7 separate regions of the Homo sapiens genome follow, and regions 2, 3, 4, 5, 6 and 7 are each linked to region 1. The links are contacts of gene promoters, found by promoter capture Hi-C in blood cells and fetal thymus (Javierre and others, 2016). All regions are on one chromosome and are shown on one strand. The core of a region is centred on a gene start or on the middle of the fragment in contact, and the rest is flanking DNA. Distances in the headings are between cores, read along the strand shown. Region 1 holds the start of ALCAM (activated leukocyte cell adhesion molecule). Region 2 holds the start of TRMT10C (tRNA methyltransferase 10C, mitochondrial RNase P subunit). Region 3 holds the start of ZBTB11-AS1 (ZBTB11 antisense RNA 1). Region 4 overlaps NXPE3 (neurexophilin and PC-esterase domain family member 3). Region 5 overlaps NXPE3 (neurexophilin and PC-esterase domain family member 3). Region 6 has its middle 7.7 kb from the start of NFKBIZ. Region 7 has its middle 2.5 kb from the start of RDUR.

Region 1 (3,017 bases), core at 154-2,653:
GTGTGTGTGTGTGTGTGTGTGTCTGTGTGTTGCGAGTCTCCAATCTCGCTGGTAACTCGCAGTTTTCTGATGAAAGTGCAGTATGTAACGATTACTAGTTGGCATCCTCTGCTGGAGACCAGTCTCACAAAAGGGTGACCCTGTGATGCACGAAAGGCTATTTAATGCCCCAGCGAAGTGCTTCAGGGACCAAGATTTTATTATTCTTTGGTGATGAGAGTTGTGATCCTGCATCCCTGATTTAGAGCCACTTAGGGCTCCGACAGCTCCACCCCGGTGTTCTAGAGGAAAATCTTCCTTCATGCTCTCTGCCTGATTTGAAAGCAACACAGCTTCCCGATGTTCCTCCTGGGAGGTGGTTCAATCTTTAGAAATTGCCTAAGAAGCCTGTCCATCTGCTGGAGTGCCTGGCTTTCGGGAACGGACCAAGACGGACTTGGCTTTTAATCTGAAATAATTTGAGGATTTTCTGTCTATAACTTAAAATCACCGCTTAACTCAAAGTAAAAAAGTGACACGCTCTCTAGAGGGCTTTTGTAGACATTGGGAAAATCCGTATGACGAAGTACGGTTTAGAAATTCCGGATTTAATTTCCCCCGGGAAAAGCAAATATCTTCTGTTGGTACCGGGCAGTCGACTCACGTAGTCTTCCTTTAAAACCAAGTCTATGCCAGCCGGGTGTGAGGGGAGTGGTGGGGGTGAGCAGGGGGAGGAGAGAGATTCGAAAAGTACAGGAGGAATCAGTCCAGTACAGGGGTTGCCCCTGCCAACAAGTAGCTATTCCTGTTAACTCCCAAGAAGCAAGTTTCCACCTTTGCCACTTCCTCCTGCCCTTTCCTTTCCTTTTCCCTTCACTCCCGCTCTTGGACCCAAGGTTCGCTCCCCACCGCCACCGCCCTGCCCCACTATTCTCTTTACAGGACAGAAGGCTGCAGCAGCACGGCGGAGAAAAATCTCTGAGGAATGAGTCAGTGGGATGGGCGTATGGGTGGAGGGAGAGGGCAGTCGATTTTTAAACCTCAGCGAGGGTGGGTGGGCAGTTGGAAGCCAGAGGCCTTATCACTGGGGCGCTGCAACATCACAGAAAGTGTTAGTCCCAGGGCTCTCCCTGGCGCGCGCGGCTCCTGTGCTTGCTTCTTATTGGCGGACCTGGCCCTGGGGGCGGAGCCGCGGTGAAGCACCGCTCATCCGGGCTCCAGGACCGGGGCACGCGGTTCTCCCTGATCCCGGAGCTGGGCTCAGGGCTCGGACTCAGTCCTGCAGCGCCTCTAGGCTGCGGATCCGCGCTTCAACCACCTGCTTTGCGCTGCGTCCGGGGAAGTGGGGAGGAGACGGGAGGGAGGGAGGAGGCGGGGAGAGGAGGAAAGAGGCAGCTTACACACGCCTTCCAGTCCCTCTACTCAGAGCAGCCCGGAGACCGCTGCCGCCGCTGCCGCTGCTACCACCGCTGCCACCTGAGGAGACCCGCCGCCCCCCCGTCGCCGCCTCCTGCGAGTCCTTCTTAGCACCTGGCGTTTCATGCACATTGCCACTGCCATTATTATTATCATTCCAATACAAGGAAAATAAAAGAAGATACCAGCGAAAAGAACCGCTTACACCTTTCCGAATTACTCAAGTGTCTCCTGGAAACAGAGGGTCGTTGTCCCCGGAGGAGCAGCCGAAGGGCCCGTGGGCTGGTGTTGACCGGGAGGGAGGAGGAGTTGGGGGCATTGCGTGGTGGAAAGTTGCGTGCGGCAGAGAACCGAAGGTGCAGCGCCACAGCCCAGGGGACGGTGTGTCTGGGAGAAGACGCTGCCCCTGCGTCGGGACCCGCCAGCGCGCGGGCACCGCGGGGCCCGGGACGACGCCCCCTCCTGCGGCGTGGACTCCGTCAGTGGCCCACCAAGAAGGAGGAGGAATATGGAATCCAAGGGGGCCAGTTCCTGCCGTCTGCTCTTCTGCCTCTTGATCTCCGCCACCGTCTTCAGGCCAGGTGAGCAAGGGCCTGGGAGCAGCCCCAGACAGACGTGGGCCTGGAGCAGTTTCCTAGGTCCCCGTCCCAGCCTCGCACCCCCGAGGCAGTGCGCCCAGGCGCGTGGTGGAGGTAAGGGGACCGCTGTCCTGGCACAGAGCTGTCCCCGGGCTCGGTCACCTGTGCCGCACGTTTGGGCTTGGCTGGTTAGCTCAAGTTTGGGCATCAAGCTGGGGAAACTGGGTGAATCTCCAGGAACTTGGTGCTCCGGGGTGGGCAGGATTCGCCTGACGCTCTCCCCTTGTCCCTGCGGCTCCCAGCTAGGCGGCGGACTCTTGCCCTCTGACAGTTCCTCCTGTCTCTGGGTATCCAAGTCCACGTCACTGCGCCCCGAGCAGTTTTTCTTTCGCTTAGTTCTCGGATGAAATAACTGCCGGCACTTTTTCGTGATAAATCCCCTAGTAACTTCCCCTTGGTGAGCCGAGGAAGGGATGGGAGGGGTAGAGAAGGAGAGGACTTTAATCACCTCCCCCCGCCCCCCTTGCGAAACCTGCTAAAGCTTAAAATCGTGGTTTCAACGTTACCCCCTGCGGTCCCCGTCCATTGTCTGGGCGGGTGGTGAGTGAAAGGGTGACCGCAGGCAGATAACACAGCCAGAACAGGAATTAGTAGGTAGGCCTGGGAGACACCTCAGTGAGAGGTTTGTGAATTTCCAGGACCTGCTCATAGAGCCTCAGTTCTCAGTTCTGTACTGAGTCTTGGAAGAGAGAGAGAGAGAGAGAGAGAGAGAGAGAGAGAGAGAGAAAAGGCAAAATTCCCAACAACTAAAATATCTCTCGGGAAATCCCTTTCCACACCCTCGGGGACGTCCCCTGGCCCTGGTATCCTCAGGCCCGCCTGGCGGCTGACACAAGTTGTTCTAACAGGGTATTCCGTGCGCTCACAGTTGCCTGACAGAGCAGCAGGTTCCTTTGCTCCCCTAAACTGAAAATTTAGGGGATTTTTTTTTCTTTGAAGTTTTTTTTTTCTATCCCTGCGTAGACAGTTGCCAGTTAAACTCCT
Region 2 (3,017 bases), core at 188-2,687, 3.8 Mb before region 1:
ACCTTCTTTTATTTTAGTAAACTATATACAATATAAACATTTCCATTTTAGTCATTTTCAAGTGTACAGTTCAATGGCATTAAGTACATTCACGTTCTTGTACAACCATCACTACTATCCATCTCCAGAACTTTTTCATCATCCCATACTGAAAATTCATACCTATTAAACAGTAACTGCCCATTCTTCCCTTTCCCCAGCCCCTGGTAAACACTATTCTACTTTCTTTCTTTATGATTTGACTATTCTAGGCACTTCATATAGGTGGACTTATACAATATTTGTCCTTTTGTGCCTGGCTTATCTCAGTGTATAATGCCTCCAAAGTTTATCCATGTTGTACCATGTATCAGAACTTCATTCCTTTTTAAGACTGAATAATATTCCATTGTATGTACATGCAACATTTTTTAATCTATTCATCTGTTCATGGATATTTGGGTTGCTTCCACCTTTTGGTTATTATCAATAATGCTACAATGACATTAGAGTACAAGTGTCTGTTTGTGTCTCTGCTTTCAATTTCTTTGGGTATATTACTAGGAGTAGAATGGCTGCAGAATATGTTCATTCTGTGTTTGGTTACAAATATATGTGGAGGCTGAATTGGCCCCAAAGGCCACCAATTTACAAATGTGTTTTAATTTCATTTCACATTAAACTTTCCAAATGAGCTAGGAGGAGACAGAAACTTACCGTGGCTTATCACGTTCCAAGCATAGTGCCAGGTACTGGTGATAAACTGGTCAAAAAGATTAGGAGTTTAAAGTCCTAGCGTCAAGGAGTTTGAAGCTGAGTAAGAAGACGTGTGAAAAAAACATACTTTATTTTAGTACTCTGTCAGCAAATGTTTATAAATACAGGGCCCAAACAGAGAGTAGGTTGAAAAGAGGATTAGAAACAGTTTTTTTTTTTTTTTTTTTTTTTTTTTGAGACAGAGAGTCTTGCTCTGTCGCCCAGGCTGGAGTGCAGTGGCGCGATCTCAGCTCACCGCAACCTCCGCCTCCCAGGTTCAAGCGATTCTCCTGCCTCAGCCTCCCGAGCAACTGGGATTACAGGCGCGCGCCACCACACCTGGCTAATTTTTGTATTTTTAGTAGAGACGGGGTTTCACTATGTTGGCCAGGCTGGTCTCAAACTCCTGACCCCAAGTGATCCGCCCGCCTCGGCCGCCCAAAGCACTGGGATAACAGGCGTAAGCCAACTGGCCCGGCCCAGAAGAAGTTTTTAGGATATATGGAGGAAAACACAACACAACACAGCTACAACTCCGTGACAACTGAGAGCGTAGTCTTCGAGTACCCAGTTGCCTACTGACAGCCGTCTCCTCTAAGGCGCTTCTTTTAGCCAAGAAAGCGTTCTTTGCGTGCTGTGACGTAAAAAGCAGCGCCGGAAGGGAGAGGGCGGAACTTCCGGCTGAGCCCCAGCGACCGCTCTGGTCGGCTGTGTAGACTGTTGGGTAGGCTGCGTGCTAGCTTCGGCGCGGATCCCTGGGCGTCCGTACGTCGGAGTCCTTCGTCCTCCAGGGTCCCTGTTCTTTGCGCCAGCGGGAACCACTATCTCTGCACTCCTGGTAAGCGAGTTTCTTCTTTCGCCTAATGTGTGTGTTGGGGGTGGGAGGACGCCGGAGACGTTCCAAGATGCACTTAGTGGAGCATGTGCGTTCGGAAGGCCCACGGGTAAGAGGAAGCCCAGTGATTTTAATAAACTATAACTAGTACAGTACCTGAAACAAAATCAGTGGTTCCTGAAATGATGTACTTGATTGCTTTTTACAATTGGGGTTTTCATTTCTGTGGTATTCTAAGTCCTTGCCAGTTACAAGAATAAAACTTTTAAAACTCCTTCTGAAATCAATGTTTATTAGATTGGGGCCTGGGGACCCCAGTTAAATATTTCCGGGATTCTAAAGTAAATTGTTTTCTCTTTAAAGGGAGGCTGAGCCGGGCGCGGTGGCTCACGCCTGTAATCCCAGCACAATGAGAGGCCGAGGTGGGCGGATCACGAGGTCAGGAGATCCGAGACCATCCTGGCTAACACAGTGAAACCCCGTCTGTACTAAAAATACAAAATAGCCGGGCGTGGTGGCGGGTGCCTGTAGTCCCAGCTACTCGGGAGGCTGAGGCAGGAGAATGGCGTGAACCCTGGGAGGCGGAGCTTGCGCCGAGATCGCGCCACTATACTCCAGCCTGGAGTGACAGAGCGAGACTCCGTCTCAAAAAAAATAATAAAGGGAGGCTGAACTTTTTTTTTCTTTTTTTTTTTTTTAATGAAGGAAGCATCGATCTAGGGTATTAGAAAAATATTTGCGTGATTACTGTGAGCCAAATACTGTCAAGCATTGGATTCAATGTTAACATTATAGACAAAGTCCTTGTCCTCATGGACACTAGTTAGTCCTTACCATCTAGTGAGGCAAATAGATAACCAGGCAATTACAGTGCAGTGTTAGAAGTACTGTCATAGGCACCAGAGTGCTGTGAAAAGTAATGGTGGAATACTTGAAGTGTGAGGTGAAGAATAGCTAGAGATGCTGCTGACCTGGCCGCAATAAGCTTAGAAATATATGTTGGGAACAATACCAATGGATAGCAATATCCCTTGAAACAGAACATTGAAGGAGGATCAGATTGTGAAGCAAAGGTAGAGGGGTTATTTCGATTTGTTGCGTTTGAGGTGTTTTTTGTTTGTTTTTGTTGTTTTGAGACAGTCTTACTCTGTCGCTCACTGCAACAGATTTTGTTGCAAAATCTCGGCTCACTGCAACTTCCGCCCCCCTTATTCAAGCGATTCTTCTACATCAGCCTCACGAGTACCTGGGAAGTAGAAGAATCGCCCCACTTCAGCCTCACGAGTACCTGGGATTACAGGCATGCGCCACCACACCTGGCTAATTTTTGTATTTTTAGTAGAGACAGGGTTTCGCCATGTTGGTCAGGCTGGTCTCAAACTCCTGACCTCAAGCGATCCTCCCTCCTCGGCCTTCCAAAGTGCTGGGATTACAGGAGTGAGCCACT
Region 3 (3,017 bases), core at 205-2,704, 3.7 Mb before region 1:
AAAGGGAGGATCATCTGAGCCTAGGAGGTCGAGGCTACAGTGAGCTGTGATCGTTGTCACTGCACCAAGCAAGACCCCCTACGCTCTGTCTCCAAAAAAGGGAGATAAGTATTAAGGTTTTATGAAGGTTAAATAAATGTCAAGGGCTAACGACTACATCCTGCATATACAAGCTTGATCAATGTTACCTATAGTTACAATTATCATCTTTAACAAATCCTGAAGTATTAAATCTGAGACATTTGTTCAACAAACTAATGTCTACCCAAACCCATCCAAACAAAATGCACTGATTACTTCATTACCTCATAATTTAATCTTCGCATTTGTCTGTCCTTACAGGAATTTAATTCAGATATTGGTTTAAAGTGGAAAATAAATGGAAGAATTTGATTATCCAATAGTTCGTAAACGAATAAACTTGATGATGTTTATAAACCGAAAAGAACTTTAGAAACTATTCAGTAATTTCGTTATTCACAGACGAAGTAACCAAGATTTGAATGAAATAACTTTTCTGTAGCCATATTGGAGAGTGACAGCACTGTTCCTAACAAAATTTCTTAAATGGGACTATAAACTATTAACTAATTCTGACAGTTTGAATATTCATTAACTGTGGAGAGTGAAGATGGTTAAGAAGCCAAGGACACTTGCTATCCTCCCTTACAACTGGTTCCCAAGGAGTCAAGTAACTTCAGAGCTGTATTTTTTGACAATCAAAAAGTCACAGTAATCGTACCTTTTCTGCGTATATACAATGCTACACAGTTCCCAAACGCGTTTTTCACATCATTAGGGGAAAGATTATTAAAACATTCAGAGTTACGAATATCAAGCTGGGCGCCGTGGCTCATGCCTGAAATCCCAACACTTTGGGAGGCCGAGGCGGGAGGATGGCTTGAGGCCAGATGGAGACCAGCTTGGGGAACGAGGCGAGACCCGTGTCTACTCAAACACCCCGCCCCCGCAAAACCAAACAACAAAAACAGTAACTGATATCTTTTACATTTACTTCTTGTTCTTAAAAAAAAACGCTCAAGGCGATTTCTCAATCACTCCTTATCACTTCTGCAAATAATTGTATTATTCCTTATTTACGCAGCAGCGGCAAAATTTGAGGAACACTAGCGAATGTGTCCAGAGCAGCTCATACTCGCTCGCCAAAACCCAAGCGCAGCACTAAAGAAACGGGAGACCCGGCTTCGGGTGACTCGTCCCCCCTTCCAAACGTCAGCACAGTCGAAAACGTGCACCCCGCAGCCTCCACTGCCGCGAGCCACACGCCACCTCCAGAGGGCCGGGGCCTACAGCCTCAAGGGGCCGCCCAAGGAGGCGGACCTGGCGCAGCCCAGGCGTCCGGCCCCTCCCCGCGGCTGGCCCGGCCTCCGGGGAAGCCCCCTTGGTCCCACCCAGGGCCAGGGCCCGCCCCCAGCTTCGCCGGCCTCCTTCCTGTGGGAAGTGCGGCTCCTTTCGCGTCCCCCACCCTCTCGGCTCCGCCTGGCAGCAGCTCCGCCGCCCAGAGGCGTCCGAGACCCTCCGACTCGTGGGTACGCATAGGCCTCGCCAGCGAGCCTTGCCCAGGCAACGAGTCGCCAGCCCGCCCCCTCGCCGCGGGCTAGGTCTCACCTCGCCACCAGTACGTCTTGGACAAGTAGTGCCAGGTCTGATGCCGGGTGTGGTGAGTGCCGCCGGGACCCAGGTGCGCCGCCTCGATGAGGTCCCGGCGTCGCTCCGGCTGCAGCACCACCTCCAGCTCCGCGAAGGTCTTGCGGTGCCGCTGCCGCCGCTGGTAATACAGAGTCCCGCCGCGCACCACGTAGCAGGCGGCAGCTTTTCGGATTTTACGCTTGACATTGCCCTCGGTGCCCGGCGCATACGGCTCGCGCTCGTTCGTCAGGTAACGCAGGATGGCCCGGTAGCTTTCCTCGCTTGACATCGCGGACCGCGGCTCCCTGAGGGCGCCTGTCAGGGACAGGTGAGGAAAACGGCCCGCTACCTACGGGCGGCTGCAGGAGGAGCGGCGGCACCGTAGGGAGAAACGGCTGCGCCTTTGGCGAGCGCTCTTCGACGGCTCCCTTAGTCCGAAGGAAAAGCGGGCGAGTTGGTAACCAGGGGGAACTGCACTTCTCCAGCGCGCGGGATCCGCTGGCGACTGACAAAATGGCTGCTGCACCACCGGAAGTGACGCAAGGCAAGGGCGGGGACTGAGCCCTGATTGGAGCGCACTCTCGTTTTCTGGCTTGATGGAGCCGATCCAGTGACGTCAGGAATGCGGGTGGACATTTTGGAAGCGGGTAGGACCCTTCACTGCAGTTCGAGGGAGTCTTTAAGCAGACATCTTAAGTCCTGGCAGTTTCTCTTTTCATTTTTCCCTTTTCCACGCTTTCTAAGGAGCCACGTGTAGGGGGAGCTGGTGGACAGTTGAGAGTTCAGCCGAAACATCCAGAGGGTTAGGAGTCCGTTTTTACGTTTGAGACTCCCAACATCATAAAAGCATATTTTCAGGCTTCTGGAAAAATATTAGTCTCTTGACACGGGACCAGAGACAGCCCATTTACATGGAAATTTAGATTCCAGTTAACAGTTATAAAATTTTCAGTGCCTCCCTCAGTGATGAGTTATTGTTTCTAAACTTGCACCTGCTAGCTCCAGACTACTCAAGGAAGAGTCGAGATTCTTTTGGAATTATCAGCATTTATAGTCAATGTTATTGCGAGTGGAAAAGGGGGTCGGTAACACTATTTTAAGGCTTTATTTACATATATTTTTACACAAACGTAGGGGAAAAGGTTCTCCATTTTGCACCAAATATATATGAGGGTGCAAGAAGGGGAGCGGACTTGAGCTGCGTCTCCCAGTGCGTGCTGAGGATGCTAATACAGGTATTTAGCTGGTAATCCCGGAGCAGCGACCCCGGTCACCCTTTCCTGGGACGAATCTGCAGCGCTCACAGGGGCCCAGGGCTGACATCCCTCCTCGGGGACTGGGGTTGGACACTGTCGCCGCTTTGCTAA
Region 4 (3,017 bases), core at 250-2,749, 3.6 Mb before region 1:
TTTCAAAGAATGGAGAATGGTATTAAGTACACAGTTGGATCCCCTCCCCATTCTTTACTCTGAGTGAATGTAGTTGCTTATTTTTAATTATTTGGGTAGTTAGCACTAATTATACATTACATACTTATATCTTGATTTGTGAACTTTACAAGGTATCTCCTGACTTGTTCATATGAGGCAGTGTATCATGGGTGGTTAAGAACACAGGTCTTAATTCAGACAGCTTGGCTTCTAATCCTCTGCTGCTTCTAACCTACATGGCCTTGAGCAAATTATTAAGCTATTCTTTTTTTTTTTTAATTTTTTTTTTTTATTATACTTTAAGTTTTAGGGTACATGTGCACATTGTGCAGGTTAGTTACATATGTATACATGTGCCATGCTGGTGCGCTGCACCCACTAACGTGTCATCTAGCATTAGGTATATCTCCCAATGCTATCCCTCCCCCCTCCCCCGACCCCACCACAGTCCCCAGAGTGTGATATTCCCCTTCCTGTGTCCATGTGATCTCATTGTTCAATTCCCACCTATGAGTGAGAATATGCGGTGTTTGGTTTTTTGTTCTTGCGATAGTTTACTGAGAATGATGGTTTCCAATTTCATCCATGTCCCTACAAAGGACATGAACTCATCATTTTTTATGGCTGCATAGTATTCCATGGTGTATATGTGCCACATTTTCTTAATCCAGTCTATGATTGTTGGACATTTGGGTTGGTTCCAAGTCTTTGCTATTGTGAATAATGCCGCAATAAACATACGTGTGCATGTGTCTTTATAGCAGCATGATTTATAGTCATTTGGGTATATACCCAGTAATGGGATGGCTGGGTCAAATGGTATTTCTAGTTCTAGATCCCTGAGGAATCGCCACACTGACTTCCACAATGGTTGAACTAGTTTACAGTCCCACCAACAGTGTAAAAGTGTTCCTATTTCTCCACATCCTCTCCAGCACCTGTTGTTTCCTGACTTTTTAATGATTGCCATTCTAACTGGTGTGAGATGATATCTCATAGTGGTTTTGATTTGCATTTCTCTGATGGCCAGTGATGATGAGCATTTTTTCATGTGTTTTTTGGCTTATTAAGCTATTCTTTGCCTCAGTTTCCTTGTCTCTAAAATGGACATAATAACAGGACTTACCACATGTGATAATTTGAACATTGAATTTAAAGATTCATGTAAACTGTTTACAAGAGTATCCAGCACATAAGTGATCACAATAAATGTTGGCTGTTTCTGCTACTGCTGTTTTTTAATTTTTCTTTCTTTTAAGCACAGGGTCTCACTCTGTTGCCCAGGCTAGAGTGCGGTGGCACAGTCATTGTTCACTGTAACCTCTAACTCCTGGGCTCAAGCAATCCTCATATATATACACATATATATGTATGTGTATATATGTATGTATATATGTATGTAGATATATGTCTATATATATAATGTATATATATGTGTGTCTATATATATATATATATTTTTTTTTTTTTTCTTTTAAAGTTTTTGAGACAAAGTCTTGTTCTGTTGTCCAGGCTGGAGTGCAGTGGCACAATCTCAGCGTACTGCAACCTCTGCCTCCTGGGTTCAAGCAATTCTCGTGCTTCAGCCTCCTGAGTAGCTGAGATTACAGGTGTGTACCACCACACCCAGCTAAATTTTTGTATTTTTAGTAGAGACAGGGTTTCACCATGTTGCCCAGACTAGTCTCGAACTCTTGAGCTCAAACGATCCCGATCTGTCCACCTCTGCCTCCCAAAGTGCTAGGATTACAGGCGTGAGCCACTGTGCCCAGCCCAGTTTTAATTTATATTTATTTATTTATTTGTTAGAGACAAGGTCTTGCTCTGTTGCTCTGGCTGGAGTTCCATGGTGTGATCATAGCTCACTACAACCTGGAGCTCCTGGGTTCAGTGATCTTCCCAGCTCAGCCTTCCGTGTAGCTAGGACTACAGGCATATGCCACCACGCTTGGCTAACTTTAAAAAAAAATTCTTGTAGAGATGGGGGTCTTGCTATGTTTCCCAGGTTGGTCTTGAACTCCTGGCCTCAAGCAGTTCTTCTGCTTCAGCCTCCCGAAGTGTTGGAATTACAGGCATGAGCCACTGCACCTGATCTACTACTGTTAACATAATGAAAGATGAGGCCTCTGCTTCATTCTCCTTCCACAATTTGTAAAATTAATTTTATTTCTATATATAACATTAAATAATGTATCTAGTCCTTTTATTTCCCCAACAGCATAATATATCTTAACTTCCTGCTCTAAGTGATGAAGAAAGCCCTACTCATTCTTATTTATTTATTTGTTATTATTTTTTTGAGATGGAGTCTCATTCTGTCGCCCAGCCTGGAGTGCAGTGGCGCGATCTTGGCTCACTGCAACCTCTGCCTCCTGGGTTCAAGCAGTTCTCTCCCTCAGCCTTCCGAGTAGTTGGGATTACAGGCGCCTGCCACCACACTCAGCTAATTTTTGTATTTTTAGTAGAGATGGGGTTTCAGCATGTTGGCCAGGCTGGTCTTGAACTCCTGACCTTGTGATCCATCTGCCTCGGCCTCCCAAAGTGCTGGGATTACAGGTGTGAGCCACCGCATCTGGCCTACTTCATTCTTTTATATTTGATTTCCACTAGTTATAATATTACTTTTGCATCATTAGGTGCATTCTTTATGGATTGTATCCTTCAAGGAATTGGTCCATTTCATCTGGGTTATCAAATTTATGGGCATAGAATTGTTCATAATATTCCTTTATTCCTTTAATGTCCATGGGATCTGTAGTGATGGCTTCTCTTTCATTTCTGATATTAATAATTTGTGTCCTCCCTCTTTTTTTCTTAGCCTGGGTAGAGGGCTTATCAATTTTATCAATCTTTTAAAAAACCAGCTTTGGGTTTCATTGATTTTTCTTTATTGATTTCCTGTTTTCAAGTTCATTGATTTCTGCTATCATGTTTATTATTTTTCTTCTGCTTATTTTGGATATTGTTTGCTCTTCTTTTTCTAGTTTGCTAAGATG
Region 5 (3,017 bases), core at 384-2,883, 3.6 Mb before region 1:
TATAACCTGGTGGTTTCTTGAAGATTGTAGGTTTGAATAATTGTTAGAAATGAATAAATATATACCTTCAAGAAAAAAAAAAAGAAATGGTTAACATCTATAAACATCTGTTTTTGAGAAGTGATCTAGCACACAGTGGTTAAGATCATGGGCTTTGGGCTCACTTGCTTGGGCCAGGTGCTGGCTTTGCTCCTTACTAGCTCAGCTCTGGGACCTTGGTCAAGTTGTTTAGCTGTTCTGAAAGGTAGGGATAGTGATAGGACCTACTTCAAAGAGTTACTGTGAGCATATGAGATAATACGTTTGCTCAGAATAGTGTCTGAGGCAGAGTAAACTTGCAAGAAATATTAGCCATCACAGTCTGTTTTGAAGCATGTAACGTGTGGCATTTTCTACAGGAGGTGTTAGGGCAGAAGGATGTTGACTTTCCCTCTGAAAGGTCGTTTTGCTTGTGTTATCAAGTGTAACTAGGTTACAACCAGGAGGTACACATTGGTGATGTATTTTTAGCATTGTTCATTATATATAAAGACTTTCTGAACCTTTTGTATAATGGAGAATAATCCGTTAGATTGTCTGCCATTAGTTTGTTCTCCATATTAAGTGGTGTTTTTTTGGAATTAAAATTAAAATTTGAAGATGGGATTCATGGATTCTAACTTTGCTTTTAATGGGCTGAAAACAGTGAACTAATACTACTCTGTATGTGTAAAGTATTAGTCTAAGTTGTTACTTGCCTCGCAGGCATGTGGGTGAGAAACTGTTCTCTTCTGGGAGAATGCTGGATAAATGCTTATGTCCACACATTTCCTTTGGTTTTGTCTTCCTTTATATTTGGCTTTGATAAAAACATATGTAATCAGGCTGGGCATGGTGGCTCACGCCTGTAATTCTAGCACTTTGGGAGGTCGAGGCGGGCGGATCACTTGAGATCAGAAGTTTGAGATCAGCCTGGCCAACATAGTGAAACCCCATCTGTACTAAAAGTGCAAAAATTGGCCAGGCGTGGTGGCTCACGCCTGTAATCCCAGCACTTTGGGAGGCCGAGGTGGGTGATCACAACGTCAAGAGATTGAGACCATCTTGGCCAACGTGATGAAACCCTATCTCTACTAAAAATACAAAAATTAACTGGGTGTGGTGGTACACGCCTGTACTCCCAGCTACTCGGGAGGCTGAGGCAGGAGAATCGCTTGAACCCAGGAGGCAGAGGTTGCAGTGAGCTGAGATCATGCCACTGCACTCCAGCCTGGCGACAGAGCGAGACTCTGTCTCGGAAAAAAAAAAAGCAAAACTTAGCCAGGCATGGTAATGCGTGCCTGTAATCCCAGTTACTTGGGAGGCTGAGGCAGGAGAATCACTTGAACCCAGGAGGCGGAGGTTGCAGTGAGCCGAGATTGTGCCACTGCACTCCAGCCTGGGCAAAAAGAGTGAGACTCCATCTCAAAAAAAATGTAAGCAGAGGGAATGCTGAAAGTCCCTCCTTTCCTTTCTGTCCACCAATACCTTCATGCCCATTTCAGATCTTCCCATTTTTGTACAAAGGAAAACCTTTTTTTTTTTTAATTTTACTTTTAAGTTCTGGGATACATGTGCAGAATGTGCAGGTTTATTACATAGGTATACATGTAGTTTGCTGCACCTGTCAACCCATCATCTAGGTTTTAAGCCTTGTATTTGTCCTAATGCTCTCCCTCCCCTTCCCCCCAACCCCCCGACAGGCCACGGTGTGTGATGTTCCTCTCCCTGTGTCCATGTGTTCTCATTGTTCAACTCCTACTTATGAGTGAGAACATGTGGTGTTTGGTTTTCTGTTCCTGTGTTAGTTTGCTGAGAATGATGACTTCCAGCTTCATCCATGTCCCTGCAAAGGACATGAACTCATTCTTTTTTATGGCTGTGGAAAACCTTTTTTTAATCAGGAGAAAAGTCTGGGATTTGAGGTCTGACAGCAGGAAATGTTTCCCACATGCTATCAGGCTAACAAATACATGGGCATAATTGTTTCTTGGGACATTTTTCATCTATTGTTGGAGGAGAATATTAAAATATTTGTTTTTCTTTTTTCTTTGCAGAAACTAACAGTCTAGAACTATCTCAAGGCTCAGGAACTTTTCCTTCTGGGTATTATTATAAAGACCAGTGGAGGCCCAGAAAGTTTAAGATGCGTCAGTTTAATGACCCTGACAACATTACAGAGTGCTTACAAAGAAAAGTGGTGCATTTATTTGGTGACTCAACAATCAGGCAATGGTTTGAATACCTTACTACATTTGTTCCAGGTTGGTACTGTGCCTTTTGTTTCGTAACTCTTTCCCACATCAGCTTTGAAATAAGCAGACTCACTCAGGTGCCTGAAGAAAGGTTATCAGGTGAGGAAACATATATTTCTGTGTAGGACTAAAGAGGTACCCAAACCCTGGAGAGATGTGTGACAGTTTCTGATCAATAGCTGTGTTGTGTTGTACTCATGGAAGCACTGGGTTCTCATTGAGGTTTATGTCACTGATGAGCTGTATGACTTTGGACAAGTCATTTACTTTTTAGGGCTTCATTTCTCCATGTGTGAGATGAGACAGCTGGACCATGTCACTTCACAGGTGTCTTTCCCTTCTAATATTCTGGGTTGTAAAATAGAGGTGGGCATTTCCAGTTGTTTCTCCCCTAGTTCTGTCTCATCCAACTCCAAGTTTATAGTAGCTTTGAGTAGAAGGAAGCAGCCAGACCTATGGTAGTCCATATTGCATCCTTGCAGCAAAGCCATCCCTGTGTCATCCATTGGGCCTACCATTGGTGTGACTCTGAGATGGAGTTGGCTCCTCCTGAGGGAGTCTGGGTAAGTTCCAGCATTCTTAGCTTCTTGATTTCTCTGCTTGGCTCTGGGGCTGTTCTCCAGACTCAGAACAAAACCCCAGTGGTTGGAGGCCCACCCCTTCTTCACAAGGGCATTCTTTTCTTTCTGGAAGGGGTATGGATGAGGTAAGGAAGGAGGGATCCTGAAGGAGCAGAAATAAAGA
Region 6 (3,017 bases), core at 224-2,723, 3.5 Mb before region 1:
CTCATGAGCTAAGAACCATTTACAGGGTGAAAGTTAGGAAAGTGCACTTGTTTCATGTGGATGTTTTGTGTGAGTTTTGATTATTACTATTAGAAAGTGTGGTACACAGGTAGCCCTTCAGACTAACACCAAACATCACTCCTTCATATATATGATTTTGTATGAACCATATGCATTTTATAGTATGTGGATATTTTCTGAAATCAAATGGAAGAACTTTTCATTTCTTTAGAAATGAAATGTTAAAGGGGAAGAAAAATTTGTTTTGTTTTCAGTTTAAACACTTGGATTTCTGCTGGGCTAGAAAGATGGGATGCTGCAAAGGTATTTCAGGGTACTGTAGCATTGCTGTGATTCAGGGTCTGTTTATAAGGCATCTGTTTATTGGGATGTTCAACTGTGTGACCTGACTTTGTGCAAGGTGCCTCTCTGGCTGCCCATCAGGGGACAGACCTTGTGTACCTGCTGGAAAGCAGTGGAGTTACTTTACATAGTGGACGACTCACTCACACCTAGTGGGTGCTCAGAAAATATTTGTGAAGAGGACAAAGTGGTATATGGCATCTCCTTTGATGCTTTCATATAAAAGGAAGTTGCAGAGAGATGACTCCGGGGACACTATTAATTTTGTCTTCACACAATCAGTCCATAATATGCAAAGTTGTACATACTATACATACAGTACTTAACGGGGTATCAAGTTTATTCTCTTAGCACTGAGCAGGATGTTCTGAGATGTGCAAACCTTTTGCTAATTCATCTGTATGATGATTAGGTTACTGGTTGGAGAAATTTCCTCAATATGGTATACTGTGCTTTGATATCAGGTGCTAATAATTTGCTGCAAACAGGACCTAGAGAATTACTTTTAAAGACAACCTTTTGATCTTTCCAGATTAAAACATACAAAAGAATAGGTTACACTCTTGTAAGGAAAAAGCTTACAGAACTTACTAACTACAGCTGTCTGTGCCATAGCCTGGTTGGTCAGGTGGCCTATTGGGAAGTATATAAGTGCCAGTAGAACTGAGTTCATATGTCTCAGAAGTAGTAATTGTTTCTATTACATGGATACCATATGGACCAGAATGTTCATACAGCCAGGTATAAGCTCCACAAAGACAGAGATTAGTGTTTGTCTGAGGTACCGCTGTGCCCCAGTACTTAGAAAAGTACCTGACATTTATAAAGCACTACCATATTGAAGAATAACTAGAATTTGAAAATATGTGGTCTGATTTACTCATCTGCATTAGAAAAATCTGTTAGAATACCCTGAAGTTTAAATGTTTCTTGAGATGTTGAAGTATGTTTTACATTGCTATGGGGATAATAAATTATTATTTTTAAGGAAAAGCATTCAACAAATCAACATATAAGATGATATCTGTTTTGAAAGCTCCTGAAAGATTTTATGTTCTTTACAAAGAATTCTGGGCAAAAGGCAGCTGGGTTTTTATATTTACAAGATAGATGAAAATAGTTTTATAATAATCCAAGTGCAGAGAATGAGGAGATTCTAATTCAAGGGGCCAAAGTATTTGTTTTGATGTCTGTACGGTATTGACATAAAATAATTTTGGAAGCATTTCCACTTGTTTCTACCATCCAGTTAAATATGTACCAAGTAACTACCTACTAAGTAACAGGTACTTGGCTATTGACAAGGGATACATGTCTTGGGAGCTTATAGTGGAATAGAGGAGACAGACTCATAAATGGTTAATTTTAGCACATCCTAAGAGCTATGATAGAAGTCTGTGTGGGGACTGAGAGGAAAGGCCCTTAGTCCAGAAGTGGGGTTGAGAGTTGGGGTCAGGGGAGGAAGGGAGGGTCAGGAAAGGCTCCAGAAGTGTTGGATATTAAGTGAGTCTTGAGTGAGTGTTGGGTATTAAGTGAGCATGAGATTTTGGTTGAGGAAGAGGAGAGAAGAACAGCAAGAGCAAAGTCTCAGAGCTGTGGGAAACTATACTCAGTTTCGTGTTACTGAAGGTAATGAGGAAGATGAAGCTTGTGAGGAAGGCAGGACTTGGACATCTGTCATTCTAAGAAGACTGGACTCCATGCTAAAAGCAGTAGAGAGCCACTGAAGGATTTTTAAATAGTGTAGAGCAAGCTTGTCCAACCTGTGGCCCATGGGCTGCATGTGGCCCAGGATGGCTTTGAATGTGGCCCAACACAAATTCATAAACTCTCTTAAAACATTATGAGATTCTTTTGTGATGTTTTTTCTTTTTCTTTTTTCATTTTCTTTTCTTTTCTTTTTTTTTTTTTTTTAGCTCTTCAGCTGCCATTAGTGTTAGTGTATTTTATGTGTGGCCCAAGACAATTCTTCTTCCAGTGTGGCCCAGGGAAGCCAAAAGATTGAACACCCCTGGTGTGGAGGAATTCTTAGAAGAATTCCTGGCATTCCAGCATTCCATTGGTATGCCGATGGCAGTCTGGAGGATGGGTTTTAAGTGGGCAAGGCTGGATGGGTGATCATTTGCATCAAGTAAGAGATAAAGGCCTGTCTTGGATAGTGGAAATTAGAGATGGAGAAGAGAGGAGGGTTTCAGAACCAGGTGTTCAACAATTATGAGTCCAATCTGGAACTTTTGAGTTGACTGATAGGACATTGCCTACATTCGATCCCTAAAAATTATTTAAATCTGTACTTACTAATTTATTTTTAAAAACTGTATTTTCTAAAAAAAAAAAAAAAAAAAAAAAAAAAACTTCATGCAAACAGTATTGTTTCACATCTTTGCAAATTTCTTAACATCCGGTTTTACAGAAGACAGATTTTCATATTTGCTTCTGCATTTAATTTGTTGCAGTTGACCAGGTGCAGGGGTTTACGCCTGTAATCCTAGTGACTTGGGAGGCTGAGGTGGGAGGATCACTTGAAGCCAGGAGTTCCAGACAAGCCTAGGCAACACAGCCAGACCCCATCTCTACAAAACATGAAAAATAAAAAAAATTAGCCAGGCCTGGTGGGGCATGCCTGTAGTCCTAGCTACTGGGGAGACTGAGGT
Region 7 (3,017 bases), core at 261-2,760, 3.4 Mb before region 1:
AAGGAAATGAGTCCATATTGGGAAGTTAGGTTGAAATACATATATTAATGATGAAAAAGTGTCAGGCTGTCGTTCAGCCATCCTTACTACTTCTGTTCCGGCATTACCAGGCTCTTCTGTAATTGTATAACACCTGTTTGTCTCCCCTACTTGTCTGAGAACTCAGAAGGCAGGAACTGGGTGAGGCAAGTAGAAGACACTCAATGAACAGCTGTTGAGTGAACCAGGGAACATCATCTCTAAGGGGAAGGAATCAGGGAATTTTCAGCTCCAATCTTCCTGTGTAATTGTTGATGAGAAAAATCTATATTCATCTTCACTGCATTTACACAGTTGACAAGAACGGTCTTATTTATAGAAGCCACTTTATGGTGTTATTTTTCACGATATAGTTACATTCTCAAACTTGCATGTTCTCTTGAAACCAATGAGAGGGGTGGTGAGCATAGGAAGTGTAGTGGAAACAAAGTAGATGTGATGAAAAATGGCGCAAGATTCTGGGTTGATTTTACTCTTATTTCAATTTACATTTACATTTTTTGAGTATGTACAATATTCTAGACTGTTTCAAGGATACTAGACTTTGTATCTGATTTCAAAGAATTTATACTGTCATGGTGAGGAGGGGGACAGAAAGGAGACTTCTTAAGTAACCAAAGAAATTAGAGAACAAGAAAAAACTGTATGTAACAAAATATCCAACTGAATTGTGAGGTGGTACAGCTTAGTCTTTAGAGGCACAGGCTTTTAAATCAGACTAGGACTGGTACTGGTTCTACCATTACTAGCTCTGAGATCCTGGAGAAGTTATGTGACCTAATCTTATTTATTTATTTGCAAAGTGGGAATGACAATAATTATATTTACACTATAAGGTTATGAGATTAAATAATATTCATGTACACTGTATATCCCACAAGGAGTATCAGATCAATGAATGATAATGATAATTATATAATAATTATAATCTTAGTGATTAAAGGTGACAATGGAAAGGACTAGGAAAACAGCTCCAGTAACTGAGGCTATTTTAAAATTTCTGTTTCTAATCCACATGAAATAGAATGTTTTGCTAAAAGATGGTATTGGTTACTTGTAGACAAATTAAAATCATATAATCGATAGGCTTTGATAAAAAACATTGAGAACAGTGCTTGCTTTGGCAAACATTACTAAGTGAACATCTTGAACTTTCTTCTCAAAAGAACACAGTTAAGAGTCCAGAGAGTTGCTTTATTTCTGACAACCAAAAGGGCTATCTTCCTTGTCCAAATTATAACCATGCAGTCCAAGGGAAATACGTGTACTTTTAGAGAACAACAGCTTTGATTCTGGGAAAGGAAATACATGCTATAGAGAGTAGCCCTGAGAAATTGTTGAAGTTTGATAATGTTGCAAAACTGAATTTCTATTTGTGACCAACATAAACATTTTTCTTCCCTTTAGAATATGAGCTCCAGTCTTTTGGAGAAAATCTTTTTCTCTTCCTGATATTGGCTATTCATTTTATGTTTTACTGAGAATGAGGACAGTCCACGTGAATTCTCTCAATATCTCTTGAAGGGTTACCCTCTTTTCCTTTTTTCTACCTCAGCACAAGGTAACTTGCTTTTTTCCTTGCCAAGAACACTGCTCTTAATTCTATTACTGCTCACCTCCTCTCAGTTTTGCTCCATCCTTTAAGCCCTATCTTTCTTCCATCTTCAATCTCCAATCTCTCCTCCTCTGCCACAAATATGGCCAGCCCTCTGTATCCTAAAATAACCCCCCTCTGACCCTGCTGCTGTAGCAGGTTACTGCCTTATCTTTCTTCCGTTTATTACCACACTTCTTCTAAAAGAATACAAATTCTGCTTTCACTTCCTGCTTATACATTCACTTCTTAACCCCTTGTAATATGGTTTCTACCTTTACCCCTCTATGAAACCACCTTCTGGAAAATCACTGAGAGTTTAGTTTCATATCCAACAAATCTAATGGACTTGTCTCAGTCCTCATTCTCCCTGTTGTCTCTGCAGAAATTTCAGTTTGTTGAATGTTCTCCTTCTATAGCCTCTGTGATACCATAGCCTGCTGGTTCTTTTATCTTTCTGGAAACTTCTCTTCCACCTCCTTCACTAGCTGCTTTTTCTTTCTACTGCTCCATAAATAAAATAAAATCTTCTCCACATTCTTTGCCTCATGTGACTTCTTATCTACTCACATTGCTTTACACATGAATTTCTTCAATCTTTTTTCCCTTCATCTCAAAATCTTTCTCCTGATGATTCTAAAATCTAGCAATTTCCAATTGCTGTTAAGACTTTCTTACTTAGGTAACCAGCCAGGATTTTAAACTCAGTGTATCTAAAATGAAGCCCATTAACTTATGTTCATCAAACTCCAAACTCCAACTGATTGTCTCTATTTTGTTTTTATAAATGACACCACTATTAATGAATCATCTTTCACAACTCACAAGTAATTTTTTATTCGTCCTTACTTCTCACACCCTGTGCCTACTAAATTATGGAGTAAGGAAGATTCTATAGGCTTTGTGGTACACAGGGTGGGAAGAGCATCTATTTTGCTGTCAGATAAGTCTGAGTTCAGATCATGGTTTTGCTACTTACTACCCTTTTGGTCTTGAGCCAGTTAGTTAAGCTCACCAGAGTCTTGATATCCTTATGTATAAAGCAGGGAATATAACATTCCCTACCTAGCCAATTGAGAGGATTGGATGAGAGCTGCACATTTTATGTGGAGTCCTAAATAAATACTGATCTCATTCTTTTCCCTAATCGTGGTTATGCCTCTCATACTCACTTTTCTTTTCCATTAAATGGAATAATATGCATCAAGGACCTCATGCAGTTCCTGAAATGCAGATGCTCATTCCACGTTTTTTTTCTCCTTTCTTCCTTCCGTTGTGGCCTGCTCAGTTCAGGACTGTGTTGCTTCTTGTCTGGACAATTGTTGCGGCTCCCGACATGGCTCTTGCTCCTGCTTCAGACATTTGGATTCACCGCATTCACTGC

Evidence for each region. Contacts are between HindIII fragments. The CHiCAGO score rates a contact against its expected background, and 5 or more counts as called.
Region 2: a contact is called between the fragment with the promoter of TRMT10C here and the fragment with the promoter of ALCAM in region 1, in 1 of 17 cell types (naive B cells). The highest score is 5.1, in naive B cells.
Region 3: the fragment with the promoter of ZBTB11-AS1 here is called in contact with the fragment with the promoter of ALCAM in region 1 in 3 of 17 cell types (total B cells, naive B cells and monocytes); the score reaches 11.4 in total B cells.
Region 4: a contact is called between a fragment that was not itself captured here and the fragment with the promoter of ALCAM in region 1, in 2 of 17 cell types (total B cells and monocytes). The highest score is 7.8, in total B cells.
Region 5: a fragment that was not itself captured here is called in contact with the fragment with the promoter of ALCAM in region 1 in 4 of 17 cell types (total B cells, naive B cells, monocytes and 1 more); the score reaches 13.6 in total B cells.
Region 6: a fragment that was not itself captured here is called in contact with the fragment with the promoter of ALCAM in region 1 in 1 of 17 cell types (monocytes); the score reaches 8.3 in monocytes.
Region 7: a fragment that was not itself captured here is called in contact with the fragment with the promoter of ALCAM in region 1 in 1 of 17 cell types (monocytes); the score reaches 8.9 in monocytes.

What each region holds. Positions count from the first base shown.
Region 1 is chr3:105,365,506-105,368,522 of GRCh38, forward strand. ALCAM (activated leukocyte cell adhesion molecule) reads left to right here and starts at 1,404. Exons shown (of 16, transcript NM_001627.4): 1 at 1,404-1,976. The coding sequence starts at 1,904. RefSeq lists silencers at 1,349-1,448, 1,779-1,898 and an enhancer at 2,929-3,017. The HindIII fragment of the contact is 2,798 bases long and covers 1-2,512 here.
Region 2 is chr3:101,560,431-101,563,447 of GRCh38, forward strand. TRMT10C (tRNA methyltransferase 10C, mitochondrial RNase P subunit) reads left to right here and starts at 1,438. Exons shown (of 2, transcript NM_017819.4): 1 at 1,438-1,573. RefSeq lists enhancers at 1,424-1,493, 1,504-1,573. The HindIII fragment of the contact is 12,384 bases long and covers 1-2,553 here.
Region 3 is chr3:101,674,976-101,677,992 of GRCh38, forward strand. It overlaps ZBTB11-AS1 (ZBTB11 antisense RNA 1), which reads left to right and starts at 1,455. Exons shown (of 1, transcript NR_024407.1): 1 at 1,455-3,017. ZBTB11 (zinc finger and BTB domain containing 11) reads right to left here and starts at 2,157. Exons shown (of 11, transcript NM_014415.4): 1 at 1,630-2,157. The coding sequence starts at 1,939. LOC124906262 (endogenous retrovirus group K member 5 Gag polyprotein) reads left to right here and starts at 1,470. Exons shown (of 3, transcript XM_047449415.1): 1 at 1,470-3,017. RefSeq lists a silencer at 1,209-1,578 and an enhancer at 1,295-1,849. The HindIII fragment of the contact is 10,842 bases long and covers 172-3,017 here.
Region 4 is chr3:101,797,125-101,800,141 of GRCh38, forward strand. All of the region lies in intron 4 of NXPE3 (neurexophilin and PC-esterase domain family member 3), which reads left to right. Among named protein-coding and RNA genes, the nearest start is that of NXPE3, 19 kb to the left of the region's middle. The HindIII fragment of the contact is 7,104 bases long and covers 1-3,017 here.
Region 5 is chr3:101,814,720-101,817,736 of GRCh38, forward strand. It overlaps NXPE3 (neurexophilin and PC-esterase domain family member 3), which reads left to right. Exons shown (of 8, transcript NM_145037.4): 7 at 2,076-2,282. Among named protein-coding and RNA genes, the nearest start is that of NFKBIZ, 33 kb to the right of the region's middle. The HindIII fragment of the contact is 3,891 bases long and covers 1-3,017 here.
Region 6 is chr3:101,840,332-101,843,348 of GRCh38, forward strand. It overlaps a transcript of NFKBIZ not described here. Among named protein-coding and RNA genes, the nearest start is that of NFKBIZ, 7.7 kb to the right of the region's middle. RefSeq lists a silencer at 2,294-2,588. The HindIII fragment of the contact is 1,070 bases long and covers 939-2,008 here.
Region 7 is chr3:101,936,818-101,939,834 of GRCh38, forward strand. No RefSeq gene overlaps it. Among named protein-coding and RNA genes, the nearest start is that of RDUR, 2.5 kb to the right of the region's middle. RefSeq lists an enhancer at 100-219. The HindIII fragment of the contact is 5,235 bases long and covers 1-3,017 here.